2 separate regions of the Homo sapiens genome follow, and region 1 is linked to region 2. The links are contacts of gene promoters, found by promoter capture Hi-C in human tissues and cell types (Jung and others, 2019). All regions are on one chromosome and are shown on one strand. The core of a region is centred on a gene start or on the middle of the fragment in contact, and the rest is flanking DNA. Distances in the headings are between cores, read along the strand shown. Region 1 overlaps PTPN13 (protein tyrosine phosphatase non-receptor type 13). Region 2 holds the start of SLC10A6 (solute carrier family 10 member 6).

What was found. Contacts are between HindIII fragments. The study calls those that stand out against the background at their distance.
Region 1: a fragment that was not itself captured here is called in contact with the fragment with the promoter of SLC10A6 in region 2 in 1 of the 25 tissues and cell types used here (pancreas).

Annotation. Positions count from the first base shown.
Region 1 is chr4:86,785,704-86,790,860 of GRCh38, forward strand. It overlaps PTPN13 (protein tyrosine phosphatase non-receptor type 13), which reads left to right. Exons shown (of 48, transcript NM_080683.3): 40 at 145-233. Among named protein-coding and RNA genes, the nearest start is that of SLC10A6, 61 kb to the right of the region's middle. The HindIII fragment of the contact is 3,788 bases long and covers 1,134-4,921 here.
Region 2 is chr4:86,846,915-86,852,107 of GRCh38, forward strand. SLC10A6 (solute carrier family 10 member 6) reads right to left here and starts at 2,470. Exons shown (of 6, transcript NM_197965.3): 1 at 1,825-2,470. The coding sequence starts at 2,201. The HindIII fragment of the contact is 7,017 bases long and covers 440-5,193 here.

The DNA of each region.
Region 1 (5,157 bases), core at 1,778-4,277, 61 kb before region 2:
TTCTTCCTAACTTTTCTAGTTAAAACATTGAAACTATTTATGGATATTGGTTTATACACTGCCTTCTTTTGCAGGCAAATGAAAACTTTTCTACTTCCTCAATAGTTTTATAAATTCCTCTTGGCCTATATATTCCTCTCTCAGGTACATTAAAGATGAATGGGAAGTTATCAGAAGAGAGAACAGAAGATACAGACTGCGATGGTTCACCTTTACCTGAGTATTTTACTGAGGTAACAATAATACCTAAACAACCTAGGATATGACAGCTTGTTACAATTATGGGTTTAACCCAGAAGGTGAAATAATCAGAGATTCTTTCCTGTTTTACTCAAAAATTAAATTTAGGAGGAAAACGGAGATTAATTTCATGTGTTACATTAAAGTGTCATCCTATCCTAGTGAAAGAATCATTACACAAATTTTCTCAAATTAAAAAAAATAGAAAAAAAAACAATTAGTTTTCAAAAATGTAATGCTAAACTTTATAAATTATTCTTTAAAACCTTAAAACTTAGGATCTTCTGGGATATTAGGCTAAGGAAAAGCATGAAATAGTAGATAAATTATATTTCAGGTTCTTCAAGCTCAGCATCACCCTATGTATACAAATCTGACCTTGCTTAATATTCTGGGATAATTCTCCTCATTATCCTTCTTAGTCTTCCTACTTCATATCTTCAAAATTATTAAAACTGTGCTGGTTTGAATGTTCTTACACTAGTTATCATGCATGCTTATACTTACACACAATCTCATCCATACATGACTGTTCATTAAATATTTACAAATAATGTGTATATATACAAGGAAGCTTACGGCTGATAAGTATGTATTTCTCAAGCTACAAGAATAATCATACAAATATTAGATATCTCAAAATGTGGCATTCGCTAGTGGTTTTTCTTAAGATGCTCTTTCATATAATCAGAATATTAATAATTACAGTAAAAATAGGCTCTTTAGAGAAGATTTTCTGAACATTTTAAGTCATGACTTTATCACATTTTTATTAATATTTAATAGTAATATTAAAATGCCCCTTAAAATGTATGTTGTAATGTCTTTTAACTAAGAAAATAAAAATCTTTAATTGCCATTTCAGAAATGTGATGTAGGCCGGGCGCGTTGGCTCATGGCGGTAATCCCAGCACTTTTGGAAGGCCGAGGAGGGCAGATCACTTGAGGTCAGGAGTTCAAGACCAGCCTGGCCAACATGGTGAAACCCTGTCTCTGCCAAAAATATAAAAAATTAGCCAGATGTGGTGGCGCACACCTGTATTCCCAGCCCCTCGGGAGGCTGAGGCAGGAGAATCACTTGACCCAGGAGACAGAGGTTGCATTGAGCGGAGATCATGCCGTTGCACTCCAGCCTGGGCAATGGAGCGAGACTCAGTCTCAAAAAAAAAAAAGTCATGTCACATGCTTTTTCTTTTAAAAAAGTAAGGAAAGCTTGTTAATATAGATTCTCATTTATACTGAGCTATGACTGTTTTATGGCAGAAAACTTCTTTCAAGTTATCTTTTTTTTATTATTTTCATTATGAAAATATTACATCCTTATTGTAAAAAAGTTTCCAACAGAATCTTCAAAACTGTTAAGTCCTAGCCGGGCATGGTGGCTCACGCCTGTAATCCCAGCACTCTGGGAGGCCAAGGTAGGCGGATCACCTGAGGTTGGGAGTTCAAGACCAGCCTGGCCAACATGGAGAAACCCCGTCTCTACTAAAAATACAAAATTAGCCGGGCAAGGTGGTACATGCCTGTAATCCCAGCTACTCGGGAGGCTGAGGCAGGAGAATCCTTTGAACCTGGCAGACGGAGGTTGCGGTGAGCCGAAATCACGCCATTGCCCTCCAGCCTGGGCAACAAGAGCGAGATTCTGTCTCAAAAAAAAAAAAAAGTCCCTTTTTAAAAACATATTTATCTTATTCATCTGAGGTAGCTATTGTTAAAAATTTTGATTTCTACCTTTCCACTGTGCATATCAAAACATAAATATTTGTATACATACATAATTTTTTAATATACGTTTTATCACATGGTTCTGAATTTGGTTTTCACTTAACAATCATTACCCTCTTTCCATGTGAGACGTATAAATTTGCCTCATACTTTTTAAAGCCTTCCTATCATTTTATTGTAAGGTTATACCATAATTTATTAAATTGGCCATCTGTTAATGAATTTTAGATTTCTTATCAATAAGAGGAAACAAATTATTAGGAACTATATAATTGTCTTGCCACTGGAGTACAGATAGATCCTGCAAATACATGCATTGAGAATACATTTTGGGCTAGATAAATTAGTGCTTCCTGAATAAATGGGACTTTTGCTTTAGAATCTGTTTTAAATAATGGTAAACAAAGCAAAGAAAATGAGGGAACAAATTTAGGAAAGGAGTAACAGGGATCTTAGATTAAAACATTTAAAAATTTTATTTGTATCTAATTCTAGGAACACGTTTAAATCACTATGGCAATTATATTCATAAGCAGACAAATTTAAAATTTGCAAATATGACTAATCTCCCCTAGCTGAAAAGAAGACCAAGCTGGTATTCTGGAAAAGTTTTCTGTTTCATCTTGTATTTCTAGAATATTACCTACATTTTAGAACTGGCTAGTTTTAAAAATTATTTAGAACTTCTGACAATAATCTTTTGTAAGTTCTTGAAATCACCCTAAACAAATTGTATATTATTTACTGAATTGGTTCTAACAGTATATTCTGTAACTTTGAAAGTTTTATCATGTGGCAAAAGTTAAGATGCTAACCATTGGTATTACAAAAGTATAGGAATATCTTCTTACAGAAGAAAGATTATACCTCTGATAGCTATTTATACATTCATTGTATTTCTTATTCAGTATTGTAATTGTACTCTTTGGTACCTCTTAGTGAAGTACTTCAGGTCAATGCCTGTGTCTCATTTAAGAATGAAAGAATGAATGCTAATCGTATACATTACTATAAATTATTGTCTACAGTTTCAAAACCATTCAGCTATTGAACTCATCTGACTAATTTTGCTGGGGATAATAGGGTAAGAAGAGGTGTTAGGGTTTCTGTCCTAAATTTGCTTGTCCAGTCTAGTAGTCAGCTTGAGGGAAGTACACATGTAAATAAGTAAATAATTTTTAAAAAGCTATAGAAACATATTCTGTTAAATGTTTATATGGAGTTCAGTGGGACCTACAAAGAAGGGGGGAAATGGTAGGGGCTACACAGGAGTAGGTGGATAAAGTTATTAAAGCTTTCTAAAGAATTAGCATCTTAAAGGTATTTGATAGTTAAGCTAGGAAAGAGCATTCCATACATACCGTGGAGCTGCTTTAGCAGAGGAATGAAGGCATAGATGAGCCTGGAACATTCAGGACACTAAGTCATTGCGAGTAGGGTATCACAGGGTGTCTTGAAAGCTAAACCTAAAAAGATAGGCAAGGTATTAGTTCATGAAGTGACTTACATGCCATGCCAAGGAATTTGATCTTTCCACATCTCTTGCCACTGAAATGGATCAATATGCTTTCTAATTCTGGTTATTTTTTAATGGCTTTAATTTCTTCAAACATTGTCTTCTTATGTAGTGTTTTTAATTTCTTAAGCAAAAACAAGGCAAAAACTTTTAGTGACTCTCCATCACCTGAGGATAATCCTGCTTGACTGGTTGGATCTTAGGACTGGCTTTATGGGCATTCAACCAGTGCAATCACACAGAACCCTGTGCTTGTAAGAGCCTCCTACTCCTAATATGCTATAGTGCTGTGCTATCACCAACTTGAAGTTCTTAGTAAGTTTTTAACAAGAGATACCTTATTTGCATGTGACTCTTGGCACTACAAATTAGGTAGTTCGTCCTAGATCAAGGAGATGTCTCCTCTACTCTCAAGTTACTGGATCTGGATTCCTTGAGCACTAGGATTGTAAAATAACCTTCAAAGGGGCTGACCACGATAAAAAAAAATCTTAAATATATTCAGTGAGGCAGTACCACAGCTGCCTCCTCTTCCAAAGGTCCTTCAGTCCATAGTGACAAGAAACTGAAGGCCAATCTTCTTAACGCAACCCTCCCCCATACACAAGTGAACTTTACAAAAATAGTGGTAATTGGTTAATACAGGTATCACTGTAGCTTTTTTTTTTTTTTTTGAGTAACAGCAAGATTTATTGTGAAGGGCAAAAGAACAAAGCTTCCACACACAGTGTGGAAGGGGACCCAAGCAGGTTGCCCCACTGTAACTTATTTCTAATTGAGCTTTACCTCACCATTTTCATTTAATAATTGTGTTATTAAAATTTTCATATTTATAATAGCACTTAACTCTTATAAAAGGCTTTGTACTTTCTAAAATCATTATACACATACTATATTCTTAGACCAGGATTGTAATGGGGAATAAGAAATCCAAATGACTTTAGTTGGAAAAAAATTTTAATCCAGACTAAAATGAGCAGCTTCTCGAAAGAGATGAGTTTCCTTTTAGTTGACAGTGGATTAAAACCTTTTTTCTTCTACTGTAGAACTTCTACATTTACATCAACTAAATTGAAATTATTATCAGGGTAATTTAATTATGGTACTTTTTAACTCTACAAAGTCTGTAACTGAAAGGTCATATTACAGGTGTCATTTTTATTAAATGGATGAAATAACCTATGTCACAGACATAAGTGTGTGTGGGCACACAGTGGTGAACAGATCGACATGATTCCTGCCTTGGTAGAGCTTAATGATGGAGAGGAAAGGAGAAAAAATCAAACACACAAATAGATATGTAATTACAAGTTGTGTTAAGGTCTGTGAAGTTTGTTTGTTGTTTTTAAGTGCCACACACACACACACACAAAAAGAATAACCAAGGAAACCTGCTTTAGATTGGGTGGATAGAAAACATCTTCAGGAGGAGAAGACACAATGCTGAATTTTTTAGTAAGGATTCACCCTTAGAAGGGCTTTGTGGTAGGAAGAGATGAGTGATTTTGAAGAACTGAAAGACCCATGAATTTGAAGCCACTGGGTAAAGGGGAGATTATAAAAGTAGACAGGGGCCAGATAATTCAGGGCCTTCAAGGGAATTTCCTATTTGTTAAGAAAATTTGTCCTGATAAAGATTCAATTGTATAATTTACCGACCATTTAAGAATACAATT
Region 2 (5,193 bases), core at 1,220-3,719:
AAGTAGCTTTATCTTTCATAGGTTTCCTGTTCATTGGTGTTTTTATGACAACATTGACTAATAAGAGATTAAGGTAATAAATGTTCTCTTTCCCAGAACACAAGTGTTTGAGAACACTGAAGATTTATGCTGCTATTCAAAACAGAAGATCTAGTTGTGTTGCTAAATGCCATGGGGGAAATGTGCCTAAACTGCAGACTGATGTAAAACAGATGAGAATTCAAATCTGAGTTCTGCCATACTGGTTTGTAGCATTTGGCAAGCTACTTAACCAATCTGAATCACAATTTTCTCAGCTGTAAAATTCAGAACAATAAAAGGCCATTTACAAGGTTATTATGAGCCCCAAGAAGAAAATAAGCATGAAAGCATCTATCCCATGCCTATGGGGCACTTAATAAATATTAGTTTCCTTTTTCTTTCCAAAAACTTTTAGGTCCTGGAATTTATCTCTGATTTATGAACTTCATGCAAAGAATATCTATCATTTCCCAGTTAAATAATCAACTTTACTGAATTTGAATTAGCAATGTATATTAATGGCTTTTACCATTAAGGTAAAACACAAAAGCAGTGTATATTAGTGGCTTTGTATATGAGTGGCTTTTACCATTAAGGTAAAACACAAAATTCATCAAGTTATTTTTTTTTCAAATCTCTCATAAGTGGGTAAACAAAAACACTGCCTTGGGAAAGTTAGTTCCTATTCTGCATGGTATGAGCCCATTAAAATTTATAGGTGAAATATGTTCCATACGCTAAACATTCAGCACAAGCGGAAAACTGGAAACACATACCTGCAGCTGACTCTCACTGATGTCAACTCCCAGCTCAGTCATTACCTCTGATTCATTCATTCATGGTAAAGTGAATCTCAACTAAATGACATACACATGAAACAAATACTTAAATTTATAAGCAGTTCTTCCCCAGGGCAGGAAGTGAAACGGCATGTTCACAAGTAAGCAAAGAGTCTCGAGAGACCATTGTTTTTAGCTCTTTTTCCAGTGCTATCCCTCTACTCTTTCCTCAAATGCTCTTTTTTTCCCCCATCAAAACATGTAATCCAGAAAAGCATGTGACTAATTCATCCTCATTAAAGTGTAAATAAGGGACAAGGCTTAATGTCTCCCAGAGGTATTTATCTACACCATAATTGGGAATAAGGTCACTGGCTTAAAGGGAAGGAATGCGAATCTAGTGATGATGTTAACGATCTGCAAAGCAACAAGAAAGAACAATTTTAGTCCTGAGAGCCTTCGCATTGCTCCTGAAGTCAAATCGACAAGCCATCTCAGCACTTAAAGCTGGATATGGCCACCAGACACCCCTAAAGCTCCTTTATCCAGTCCTCTAAAGTGCTTCTTTCCTAAAGTAGGTGCTCAGGCATCACTGACTGGAGCTACGGGAGTCTCATTCTGACTATGCCACTGACACAACCACGACGGCTGCTACCAAACCACAATCGTTAGCTTCTTGGGATTCTTGGTTTAAGTCCTAGGAGTTGCTAAAGAGGCCAGTGTAGGTAAGAATGAGCTCAAGCTTAGGAAGGGCCACTGGGTGAGGTGCAGACCTGCCTCCACTGCTCAGAACGCATCCCACTGCTCAGAACAGTAGCCAATAAAGAAAATGATCATCAGCAAAGTAACTTTTGAGCACTGAAAGGAAAGCCCACCCATGGCTGAACAAGTCTCTGTGATATTTGTAACATTTCCCACTAGAATCTCTACCAAAAGATTAGAAGAGTGTTTAACACAAGAGTTTCAGTTATTCCCCCTAGGCAGGATAAGAGACAGACTGCTGAGCTTCCCTGGGGTTACTTACCTGAGATCCATATCTCCATCAACCCAGAAGGTGAAAATGTTAGAGATGGTGCCCCCCGGGCAGCAGCCCATGATGAGAACAGCAATAGCTTGGACTGGCTTCAGAGAAAAGCTAATGGCCAGGAGATAAGCTGTAAAAGGCATGAGCCCAAACTGGCAGAGCAGTCCCACAGCAATGCCCCAGGGTCTCCTGATGTGCGACCACAGCTTCCGGATCTCCACGGAACATCCCAAAGAGAACATGAGCAGCCCCATCATCACAGTGGACACCACTGTGAAAACGAGCTCCAGGTTTCCATGCACCTCCAGTCCCACTGGCAGCTCCTCCTCTGAACTGTTGGCAGGGCAGGCTGAGCTGCTGGAACAATTGGCTCTCATCTCCTCATCTCCTTAAGGCAGCATTACAAATGAACATCGGCAACAATGGCTGGGCAGGTCTATCCTGCCACATTTTGTAATAGTGCAACGAAGTCACACATGGAGAATCATTCCAATAACTGTTGGCCAGCAAGGTGATTCATCCTAATCTGATCAATTTTTTCACAAGTGGCATTATAAAAGTAATTATCACAGGCATGAAACATATAATAAACTGTGGTAAGTAAGGCTTTCCACTTCTGTTCTTACTCACCACTGAATATGTATGTGAGATGAGACAAACAAACTTGTTGTCAAGTGGAGTGACCGGGCTATGTCGTCAGCATCACATTGTGTCCCTGGAAAGTAGGGTGGATGCCAAGAAATAATTTCTCCAAATTCAGTTGGGATTTCAAAGAGCCAGGATGCACAGACAGAAAAGCTAACTCCGGAAAAAACAACAAAGCCAAAGCCACACCTTGTAGCATTAGCAAAGCGTGTCTGCTGGAAATAGAGCAAAAAGAAAAAAAACGCCGGTGGAGGAAATGTCAGGAGGGACTAAGAATAATTTCAAGGAGCTTCAGAATTTGTCTCAGTTTTTCTTCTAGTTCTATTAGAATTTGTGTCTAAAGTCAATAATTAAACACCTGTGAGAATAATATGGTATTAGGCACCTAATTATGTCTCATGAAACATGTGAAAACTAATTCCTTCACCCAAAATAATTCAAGGGAGCTCTCACTTGCTTTTGGAGATAAGAGTCTACTTTGAGATACATACCCCTGGCCTCCTAGGGACATCTGGGAATCCTGCAAGGGGATGTGGTAAAGAGCTTGGTCTGAAATGGAGATGGGGTCTGAGGACAGCCTCTGACCACAGTGCCCAGGGCCCCTCTGTGCATTCTAAGCAGGCACTGCTGGCAAAACCCAAGGACTGTATGGTTCTGTGAAACTAAACCTCTGAAAAAGCAGGTGCCACACCCCTTCTCACAGCAGAAAGTTTATTTGTGGGGCACAGGCTAGTAACAAGGCACACTTCATAAACGCCTCTACCTGTCTCAAGAGGGATACTAGCTATGCATTGTTTATTCATGGATGAGCAAATTCTTCTCCATGACAGAATGCTCAGGACATGCTGACTGTATAAAAATACAAGTTAGATTCAAATGTGAAGTAAATTCTAACTATTTGAAGAAAGAATAAACTGCCTTTGGCAAACAAACCCTGAAGGCAGCTCTGGCCATCCAGCCTCCCTGGAGGTTGCGTATAAGGGGTCAGTCAGCACAGGGCGTATTTACGCAGAGCCCTGCAGAGAATGGACACTGAGGAACGGGAAAGGTCTCTGGAAGGCAAGGTGTTCCCAGCTTGAATGATGCAGAGGTGTGGTCAGGCTGAGGAGGAAGGGAGGAGGGAGACAGCTAACATTTTCTGAGCACTTCTCAGGGGTGACAGAGGTGGTGATATGGTTTGGCTGTGTTTCCCCCGCACCCAAATCTCATCTTGAATTATAGCTCTTATAATTCCCATGTGTCATGGGAAGAACCTGGTGGAAGGTCATTGAATCATGGGGGCGGGTTTCTCCCGTGCTGTTCTCATGATAGTGAATAAGTCTCTCAAGTTCTGATGGTTTGATAAAGGGGAGTTCCCCTACACACGCTCTTGCCTTTTCTGCCACCATGTAAAACGTGTCTTGCTTCCCCTTCCCCCTCTGCCATGATTGTGAGGCCTCCCCAGCCATGTGGAACTGTGAGTCAATTAAACCTTTTTCCTTTATAAATTACCCAGTCTTGGGTATGTCTTTATTAGCAGCGTAAAAACAGACCAATACAGGTGGCTAGGTGCTTTACACATATGTGGCTATGTCTGGTGAAGCAGAACTTTATTTACTTATTTAGCAAGAGAAGGGGTCAGGGGTGTCTGCCTAGATAATGTCCAAAAGCCCCTTAGTCAACCTTCTTTTTTTTTTTTTTTTTTTTTTTGAGATGGAGTCTCCTACTGTCGCCCAGGCTGGAGTGCAGTGGAGTGGCGCGATCTCGGCTGACTGCAAGCTCTGCCTCCCGGGTTCATGCCATTCTCCTGCCTCAGCCTTCTGAGTAGCTGGGACTACAGGCGACCACCACCATGCCTGGCTAATTTTTTGTATTTTTAGTAGAGACGGGGTTTCAGTGTTAGCCAGGATGGTCTCGATCTCCTGACCTCGTGATCTGCCCGCCTCAGCCTCCCAAAGTGTCAACCTTCTTTGTTCCCAGGAAGAGTCACTTGAATCGCCCTTTTTAGTTATACAAATTTAAGTTTTGTATAAGCACCTCCATTCCTGATAAGGATGGTATAAGCACCCCCATTTCTGATGAGAATGGTGTGACGGGAACTTTTGTGATTGCTGGGTACTCAGTGCTGATAGAGGGGAGGGGGCTAAATATGCATAGCAGCCTTAAGGAGCCTCCTGGGAGAGGGAGAAAGGTGACCTTGGCCACTTCTCTTTTAAAATGTAGTGTTGGCCGGGCGCAGTGTCTCATGCCTGTAATCCCAGCACTTTGGGAGGCTGAGGCAGGTGGATCACGAGGTCAGGAGATCGAGACCATCCTGGCTAACACGGTGAAACCCATTCTCTACTAAAAATACAAAAAAATTAGCCAGGTGTGGTGGCGGGCACCTGTAATTCCAGCTACTCAGGAGGCTGAGGTGGCAGAATGGCATGAACCAGGGAGGTGGAGCTTGCAGTGAGCGGAGATTATGCCACCAAACTTCAGCCTGGCAGCCTGCACGACAGAGCGAGACTCCGTCTCAAAAAAAAAAAAAAAAAAAAAAAGTAGTGTTATCAGAATTTCTCAAAAGAATTAGGATGTTTCCGACTGAGGTCAGCTGGTCCTAACACACACCAGGAAAGACAGGGGTTTCTTGCCTGATGACAGGTTCCTCTGTGTCCAGTCACCCTGGACAGATGCCACAGGACACAATGACTAAGTATATGGATATGACCTGAAGAGAAGTCATCTTGAGAGCCCAGGCTTGGA